Linked DNA regions of Homo sapiens: regions 1 and 3 are each linked to region 2. Evidence: promoter capture Hi-C in 16 types of primary human blood cells and fetal thymus (Javierre and others, 2016). All regions are on one chromosome and are shown on one strand. Each heading gives the region's core, a stretch centred on a gene start or on the middle of the fragment in contact. The rest is flanking DNA. Distances are from core to core; before and after follow the strand shown. Region 1 holds the start of PSMA2 (proteasome 20S subunit alpha 2). Region 2 holds the start of CDK13 (cyclin dependent kinase 13). Region 3 holds the start of ELMO1 (engulfment and cell motility 1).

Region 1 (2,832 bases), core at 135-2,634, 3.0 Mb before region 2:
TCAAACACCACAGAAAACATGTACTGCGCGGGAGGGAGGGAGGAAGGGAGGAAAGAAGGGAGGGAAGGGAAGGGAAGAGGAGAGGGGGGAGAGGGGAAGCGGGAGGGGAGGTGAGGGCAGGGCTGGAAAGGAAAGACAGATCCAGAGAGTGGTGAGCCTTGATGCCAAGTGAGACCTGCAGAACTGTCCTCTCAGGACAACTCTGTACAAATCCCTGAACTCCACAGACTTGACCAAACTCTAGCATAGTTTCTAGCAGCATAAGGCTGTATCCTAGGATGACCTCGGCCCCCCCTTTAAAGTGCCTGCCTGAGAAAGCTCAACGCTGCCTGGAAAATTTCCTATTTATTTTGGCCAACATACCCCGATAGTAGGTCCCGAACTCCCTTAGAGCATTTCCTGGAAAGGGCATATAATTGTAAATACGTATCCCTTGCAACTAACTCGGAAGCTTTTCTTTCAAGGCCCTGAGAGCCATTCCTTCGAAATCTAATCATTAGGAAGGATAGGGCCTTTGTCTCCCAGTCTCTGCGGGAGGATAGAATTCTCCCTAAGACAACTGCGAGCTAGCAGACACAGCCGGCTAATCACATTTGCACTGACTTCACTATACTACACTTCTCTGACTCTACAGAGCCCCTACACTCCCGCCTCGCTCATTCTCCCTTTAAAACGCCCAAAGTCACCTCTGCACAAACCGGGATGGAGCTCAGCTCTTTACCTGCAGTAGTTACTGAATAAAATCTGTTTTCAGCGCTTTACTTACTGGCTGGCTATGATTTATCTTTGACACAAGCTTGGGTTACATTCTGTGTACGAATGGAACAAGCAGAGGAATTTTTTTTTTTTTTTTTTTGCGGTGGAGGGAGCGCAAAAACAGTCGTTCTGTTCTCGCTAATATGGGAATGTCACGAACTACGTCCCCGACATGAGGCCGCGGATCAGAACCGGGGCTGAGGGCGAACTGTGTAAGCTGCGTCTGCTACGCTGCCCGAGGTCCCGTCATCAGCCCCCTCTCCCACGGAGCCCTTCTTTACCTACCCCACGGAGGACTGGGAAAGCCCGGCCGGCTCTGCGGAAGCTTCCGTAGCAGTCGCTCCCAGTAGTTTCGAAGCACTCCCCGGGCCGCAGACCACGGCGAAACCACCAAGACCAGCATGGCCAGCGCCATTTTCCCTGCTGGAAGACCGCCCCGGTCCCGCCCCTGCTTTCAGCATGCGCACAGGCACAGAATCGGGCAAGCCTCGCTTCTTAGAACTACAACACCCCGCATGCTCTTGGAGCAGCTCTGACTCTCCTCCAATCATAGAGAGTAAAGGAAAGGTGAGGGGCGGGGAAATGAAAGGAAATCGGCCACAGTGCGCATGTGTGCGGCTGTGCTTTGGCTCTTCGGGTAAAGATGGCGGAGCGCGGGTACAGCTTTTCGCTGACTACATTCAGGTATGGAAGGGGCCCTCGAGGTCTTCAGCGTAGTCGAGGTTGCTGGTACTCTGTCGATTTAGTTTTTCCCATCCTGACGTCGGCATTGGTGCTTCTGGAGGGTCCAGTAGGGAATGGAGTTGGAAATGCGGCTTTGCAAAGTCATTTGCCAGGCCGACCCGGGATTCCTGGAGCTTCCTTGGTCGGAGGCTGCTGGAGGGTCGGGGGGATGCGGTTTTGCGGGGTTAACATGGGGCTGCGGGACGGTGAGGCACATAGCCAAGGATTCGCTTTCACTTTGGAGACCAGAAAAGAAGGCAGTTTTAGCTTAACCATCTCTGGGTGGCCCGTTCCGAACTCAGGATTTTTTTCCTGGCTCAAGTAGACCTGATGCGGTGGTTTCTGAAACTTGGAATCTTGGTCAAATATGTGGGGTTCCCTTTTCTTGGAAAACTCTCAGCTTTACAGTTAAGTCGGAGTCTTGGTCTCCATTTGGCACTAGTGTCTTTCAAAACCTCCCGCTTTCGGTTTCTTCGATGCACGAATTAGAAACATAAGGACTAAAAACCGAAAGCCCCTATCACTTTTTTGTGAACCCCTAACAACGAGGCAAGTTTGAGTTTTGGTCTTTTTTTGGTGGACTGGGGGGAACGTCGGGGAGGGGGATGTTTACTTTAAACAAGATTGTAGGTTTTTCTATTGTAGAAAAGGGGATTAGAATAATAAGTTTACTTTCCAAAATACAGTTGGGGCGAACCATGGCTCTCAACGTGAGAAAACCATCGCCGAAGACTTTTAAAAATTGACTGGGGAAGTTTTCTGACTTACCCATTTTCTTAAGGATCAGTAATGCCCAGTTTACTTAAAATGTACTCCTGACAACTGAAGGCAGGCGGGATCTAACTTGTTGAGTACTTTGTTAGGTGCAACTTAACCTTAACCTGCTCCATCTCTTTCCACTGCTATAATGAATGTTATCTCAGCTTCTTACAGATGAACTAACCGCAGCTTGTACAAATTAAACAACTTGTCTAAGGTCATCGGTGAGTAGCTGAGTTGACATTCAAACTGGGTTTTTTTTCTGATAACAAAAATACACTTTCCATTACATAACGTTGTCTTAAATTCCAAAAGTACTTTTCTCTTGGCAGTTTTCAGTAAGCAGTGGGTGTATGTAATAGTTTTTTTGTAACCTTTGAACGAGATTAATTTAATTATGCAATAAAAGGTCTCATTATATTACATATGACAGAATAGTGTGTGCAGGATGTATTCACTGTTCCTATTTATGAAGAAAACAAATGTGGTCCTTTTTTTAGGGACAGGGACTTGGCAGCCTCCAGCTCTTGGGCTCAAGGGATCCTCCTGCCTCAGTCTCTGGAGTAGCTGGGACTAGAGGTGTGCACCACCCTG
Region 2 (2,828 bases), core at 1-2,500:
CTCCTTGGACGACTTAGTCCGGCTGCGGTGGGCCTTCGAGTCCCGGTCCTTGCGGCTGCTACTGCTGCTGGATGTGGCCGAAGCGCTTTTCCGGCGGCCGCCGCTGCTGCTGCTGCTGCCGCTCTTGGCGACCTCGGCCCGTTCCTCGCCGCTGTGGCTGTGGCGGCTGCGGGACTTGGAGGCCTCGCTGCCACCGCGCTGCCCATCCCGCCGCCGGTGCTCGCGGTGGCGCTCCTTGCTGCGGCCACTGCTGCTGCGGCGGTCCCGGCGGGGCCTGCGCTCCGACCCCTCCCCGCGCCGCTGGGTGCCGGAGGAGGAGGCCGGACTCCCGCCGCTGCCCCCCGTTCCCCCGGCAGCCGTCGCCGCCGTTGCCGCGCTGGCCCCCCCCAGCAGCAGCCCCTGCTCGGACTGGGAGCTCACATCCTCGTATTCCACCAGCGGGGTCACACCCCCGCCGCTACTAGCACCGCCACCGCCGTCCTGCTGCGGCTGGGGCAGCGAGAAGACCCGACGCTTCTCCGCCTCCTGCCCGGCGCGGGGCCCGCGACGCCGCTTCTGCCGCCCTCCTGCGCGCCTCTTGCCTCTCGCCAGCCGCTTGACCTCCAGAGGGGGGCCCGGGCTGAAGCAAGAGGAGGAGGCCGCGGCGGCGGCGGCTGCGGCGGCGGCCGTGCCGGGAGCAGCCAGGAAGAGCAGAGGCGGCGGGGGCGGCGGCGGTTGCAGGAGCTGCGGCTGCAGGAGCGGCAACAGCAGCGGCGGCTGCTGAGGGGACAGGAATCGCCTCCGCTTGCGGCGTTCCTCCAACTTCTTCTCCGCCCAGCTCAGGCCCCCGCCTCCCCCCAGCGCCGTGTCCGAGCTGCTCGGCATCGCCTAGAGCCAGCCGCAGAGCGCGGCGCGGGTGCGGCCTCCTCCCGGGTCAGATCCTGGCCATCTCCCCCGCCGGAAACGGGAGCGGCGGCGGAGGGACACCGAGCACCAGAGCCGGCCGGGAAAAGCGCCACGATAATCCGGGTCGGGACTCGGGTCCCTGGGTTCCAGGTCACAGTGGGGTACGCAGCAGCCTCCGGGCCCCAGGGAAGCAGGAATCCGGGCGGCGGAGCTCCCGATTGCGCTCGTCGTCCTATCCTCGGCAGCGAAAACACCAGATGCGCCGGGCGCTGACCTGCGGGGGAGTCCCGAGTCCTCCAAGTGCCCCCGGGGGTGGGGGAGCGGCCTTGGCCGCGCTCTCGGCTCGGGCAGCGCAACGCGGAAGTACCACCTTCGTCGCCGCTTCACTCCATCGCGCCCTGACGTTGGGTGCAAGTTCAGGGGAGGGGAGTGGGCGAGACAACAACACGCCTCCACCGCCTCCTCCTCGGCGTCGACGTCGTCCTCCTGTGGTGGCGGCGACACACCGCAGGCGCCTCGGAAGTGGCCTGGGCCTGACAACAACTCCCGGCCTAGGGCCTCGCGCACTCTGCGGCCCGCGGGGCTGGGCAGCGGGGCGGGGCGAGGCGGGGGCGACCGGGCTGCGGCTCTCGGTTGGGGCAGCGACTGTGCGGGGCTGGGCGGGGGGCTATTTCCGGGGAGATGGGGGCAGGGGCGTTTCTGAGTCTGTGGCGGTAGGTACGGGCCCTGACTTTCTTCTTCTTTCGCCGCCGCCGCCGCCGCCAGCAGAGGTGGCGGAGCTACCCCTTTCCTCCGCTCCCCCCCTCCACGAGGAGGCTCCTGGTGTGCGCGGCCTGCCCCGGCTCGCTCCTCCCCTTCCCTCTCCGCTCCTCGTCAGGAGGAGGGAGAGCAACGGGACTTGCTGGTTGGGCCCTAACCTCCACAACCCCTCCTTCTCGCCTCGCTCTTTCGGCTTTTCCCCTCAGCCCTGACGTACGACCGGGAGCGCGCCCGCAATTCACGCTCAGAGAAAGCCGAAGATGAGAGGTGGCCGGGGCAAGAGAGGCGGGAACAAAGTTACCGCGCACTGGCGTGCTCGCTCCCGCCAGGGGCCGGCAGGCCGCACCGGAAGTGGCATGATGTAGAAACCGCTCGGCTTCCGGCGAGGGTGGGACTCCGTGTGAAGAAGGGTTAAAGAAAGGAGAGGATTCGTGTGCCGCCCACTGCTGTTGCTTGAGACTCTGCCCGTGGTGGCGCGCCTGTCGTGCTTGTTGCTTGCGTCCAGCGCGCAGTGCCGGTTCCGGCTCTGCAGACGCCGCACTGCCTGCCTGTTGAGCGAAAGGTCACAGTGAGAACAAGTGTTTCTGGAGACTGCGAGGGAAATAATGCTGTTGGTGGCCTTCTGGAGTAGGCAGTTACCCCCCGTGTACCTTCAGTCAAGCCCTGGGAGTGGAACAGCTGCGAAAGGAGAGAAAACACCCCGCAAAACAGGGTGGAGATGGCGTTGGTTTAACTTGTCTCACGTACGCCAAAGTTCGAGGCCCCATTTTTTTTTTTTTTTTTTTTGAGACTGAGTTTCGCTCTCGTTGCCCAGGCTGGAGTGCAATGGTGCGATCTCGGCTCACCGCAACTTCCGCGAGGCCCCTTCTTATCCTAAAAAACACACTTGGGAATCACAGCTCAAGCTTCGGTAACACTATTTACTTTAAAATAAAAATTTTTAAAGCTTTAAATCAATACAGGAAATAAGTGGAATGTTAAAAGGAACTACTGAAAATTCCAAATTCTCAGGAGGCTTGAAATAAAAACATCTTGTGCGAATGAGGACTGCCCTCTTAGTACTTCACCCACTTTCACCTTCATATCTAAACCTTTGGGGTTGCCAAACATAGCCATATAGTGACCTCACATCTCATTTCTTGCCTTAGAATTGCCCTTCAGTTACAGACTAAGCACTCGGGATA
Region 3 (2,908 bases), core at 268-2,767, 2.5 Mb after region 2:
TTTAATAGTTGGTGCTATTGACTTTTGTTATTATATCATTACTGTTTTATAGATGAGGAAATACAGAAGTTAAGTTGCTTTCCTGCAGTCACCCTGCTTTAGTTACTGGCTTATAACCATCTGGACCCAGGCACTCTTGATACTAATACTGCCTCCCAGAGTCATGCGTATAATAAGGAGTTAGATCAGAGCTGTTCATTAAAAGTATAAGGTGAGCCACTAATGAGAGCCTATGTGTAGCCTTACATTTTCTAGTAGCTACATCAGAAAATGTAAAAAGAAACTGGTGAAATTAATCTTATATATGCTTATATCTTAACCCAACACATGACGAATCCAACTGACTTACTACATCAGACTATTCTCATGTATTGCAATAATGTAATCAACATAAACATACTTAACAAGTTAGTTTACATTCATTTTAAAAATACTGAATTGTATGTCTGTTTTACACTTACAGAACATCTCAGGGATAGCCACATTTCAAGTGCTCAACAGCTGCCTGTGGCTCTTGAGGGGGAAGATCTTAAAAGGGAGCTTAGTTTTCCACCTTGATTCTGATGCCTCCCTGCCCCCGACTTATTTCCTTTGCCAATTAGAAGAAAATGCCGAACTGCCTTTGACTTTTCCGGTAGAGCCAATGTAGGTATTTCTGAACTGGGGGAGGACAGGTGGTTCGCCTGCAACCCTCTTCCCTCCTGCCAGCTAGGCTGGGAGTTAACGTTTTTGATTTCTGCTTTGAAAATGATTTAAGTAGGTTGCATGAATTAAGTAATTTATTCTAAATATCAAATTATGGGTGGAACGTCTTGCCTTATGCAAAGTTATGCAAAATTAGGAAGTCCCTGGCTTAATTGGTTAGAAATACATCTTGTAGTTTCAATTGCAGGGTTAGTAAATACATAGATGTCGACGGAGAGGGAGGAAACTTTTTTTTTTTTTTTTTGCCACTCTGTCCAAGGGTAGAGGCACAGCGTCAAAACAAACACGTCTTAAAGTAGCGTTCAAACAGCCCACCGAAGTTTCCCCTTAATATCCGGAACCGGTTGCCAAAAATTAAAAAAGGATGTGAAAAGATGCTACTCGCTTTTGGCCTCCCGGAGATGGCGCTATGAGGGTGACGGAGTTAATTAGTGCCTCCAAACGCCGTGTGTGAGCTCATCGAAGTCATGCTCTGCACACATATTATTTATAGCAGATCTGAGGCATGCATGGTGTTTGACATTTCTGTCTTTTAAGTAGGGGGACTTCAAAAAGTCGTGGGCATCCCCCTAGGCAAAGTGCAGTGGGCAGGGACCAGGCAGGGTGCGGGCGCAAGGCGAACGCGCAGACCACGAGTGTCCTGGCGCAGGTGCCGGGGGCGGCGGCTGCAACTCCGCAGCGTCCGCTCGGGAGGAGAGTTCGCGGCTGATCTCCGGATGCCTTGCAGATGCAAAATGTGTCTCTGGCCAGCAGGAGGAAGGAAGAGGAAGTGAGAGCAGCGGCAGCCGGCGGTGCAGCAGCCGGCCGACCCAGAGTGTAAGTGCGTGTGCTGGGGCGAGCGGGAGCGGGCGAGGATGGGCACAGGATAGAGGCAGAGCCACCCACGCCGCCGCGGCCCCACGCTGGGCGACAGAGCCTCCAGTTCCCCTTCAATGGTGGCGGGTCGCCGGAGCTCTGATCGCCGGGAACCCTTGCCGCTGCTGTCCTGCGACCCCAAGCAGGTTCGTAAAGTTTCCTGGGCTGGCGCCGCGCCCCGACTCGCTGACCTCGGCGCGGCAGGGGAGGGGGCCGGGACTGGGGCCGGGAGGAGGCGTCCTGCTCCGGGGGACTCCGGGCGCCGCGGAGACACTTTTGTTTCCTCCCTGGGGGCGCCGCGGCTCGGGCGGGGGTGGCCGCCGCGCTCGGCAGGGTGAGGGCTGCGGGCGCGTCGGGGCGCTCTGCAGTTGGGGAAGTCTGAGCTCCGGGGATGGCGGGAGTGGGAGTGGGAGCGGAGGGAGGGGGCGCTGGAGGTGCGGCGCCCGCGGATGAAGCGCAGGGCCCGGGGCCCGGGAGCCCGCCGAGACATTTCGACCAGGGTCTGCGGGAGGGGGGGCGCGGGAGGGTTGCGACGCTGGCGCGGGGTTACTGGGGACGGGGGATGTGGGGCTGGGATCTTGGAGTCAAGATTCCTATAGAGCTAGAGAAGCGGCTGCGGCTCAGACTCGGCGTCTTCTCCTGCACTCGGGGATGGGAGGGAATCCCCCGGCGAGCGCGCTCGTGGGAGGGGGCGGTGATGGGCCAGAGGAATGGGGGCCAGGAGGGCCGGAGAGGGCGGTCTGGGCAGCCGGGAGCCCCTGAGGTTCTGGTTAGTAAATACTCTCCTCCCGGGGACACACCGGGGTCTCCGCCGAGACCGAGAGAGGCGGCGGGGAGCTTTGTGGAGCTTCGTGGAAATCTCGGCTTCGGAGAGGGGACGCACCGGGCGCGCCTTCAGAGAAGGGGGCGGCGGCATGCCAGGGGGCCCGGGAATCGGAGCGGAGAGTGGCGACTGCGATCGCCGGAGTCGCTTTGAGGAAGAGGAAATACAGAACTCAGCTGTCCCGGGGGTGCGCGCGTGTGTTTGGGGTTGGGAAGTCGGTGCTGTGCCGCGAGCGCGCGCGAGGCGGCGTGTGTGTGTGTGTGTGTGTGTGTGTGTGTGTGTGGTGTGTGCGCGCGCGCGTATGTATGTGTGTGTGGTGTGTCGTCGGTGTGTGTGTGAGTGTGTGTGTGTGGGGGGGGTGTTGTGGGTGTGTGTGTGAGTCGGTGTGTGTGTGTGTGACCGCACAGCCAGGAACTCCCCGCCCAGTGACCCTCTCCCGCCTAGGGGGCCATTTGAAGTTGGAGGCGGGTCGGGACCTGCCTTGACCTAAAGGACCAGCCTCAGGCTTGGTCCCAGGTAGTGACC

The links. Contacts are between HindIII fragments. The CHiCAGO score rates a contact against its expected background, and 5 or more counts as called.
Region 1: a contact is called between the fragment with the promoter of PSMA2 here and the fragment with the promoter of CDK13 in region 2, in 2 of 17 cell types (total B cells and fetal thymus). The highest score is 7.1, in total B cells.
Region 3: the fragment with the promoter of ELMO1 here is called in contact with the fragment with the promoter of CDK13 in region 2 in 1 of 17 cell types (total CD8 T cells); the score reaches 7.6 in total CD8 T cells.

Annotation. Positions count from the first base shown.
Region 1 is chr7:42,930,726-42,933,557 of GRCh38, reverse strand. PSMA2 (proteasome 20S subunit alpha 2) reads left to right here and starts at 1,384. Exons shown (of 8, transcript NM_002787.5): 1 at 1,384-1,440. The coding sequence starts at 1,400. It overlaps MRPL32 (mitochondrial ribosomal protein L32), which reads right to left and starts at 1,182. Exons shown (of 3, transcript NM_031903.3): 1 at 1,042-1,182. The coding sequence starts at 1,171. RefSeq lists an enhancer at 1,004-1,233. The HindIII fragment of the contact is 5,414 bases long and covers 1,084-2,832 here.
Region 2 is chr7:39,948,678-39,951,505 of GRCh38, reverse strand. It overlaps CDK13 (cyclin dependent kinase 13), which reads right to left and starts at 1,250. Exons shown (of 14, transcript NM_003718.5): 1 at 1-1,250. The coding sequence starts at 864. CDK13-DT (CDK13 divergent transcript) reads left to right here and starts at 2,087. Exons shown (of 1, transcript NR_158201.1): 1 at 2,087-2,828. RefSeq lists enhancers at 1-42, 1,183-1,462, 963-1,881, 1,933-2,182, 2,253-2,382 and 3 more and silencers at 253-312, 383-672, 1,463-1,692. The HindIII fragment of the contact is 3,453 bases long and covers 1-2,551 here.
Region 3 is chr7:37,447,473-37,450,380 of GRCh38, reverse strand. ELMO1 (engulfment and cell motility 1) reads left to right here and starts at 1,517. Exons shown (of 22, transcript NM_014800.11): 1 at 1,517-1,706. RefSeq lists silencers at 1,768-1,817, 1,828-1,877. The HindIII fragment of the contact is 5,071 bases long and covers 1-2,908 here.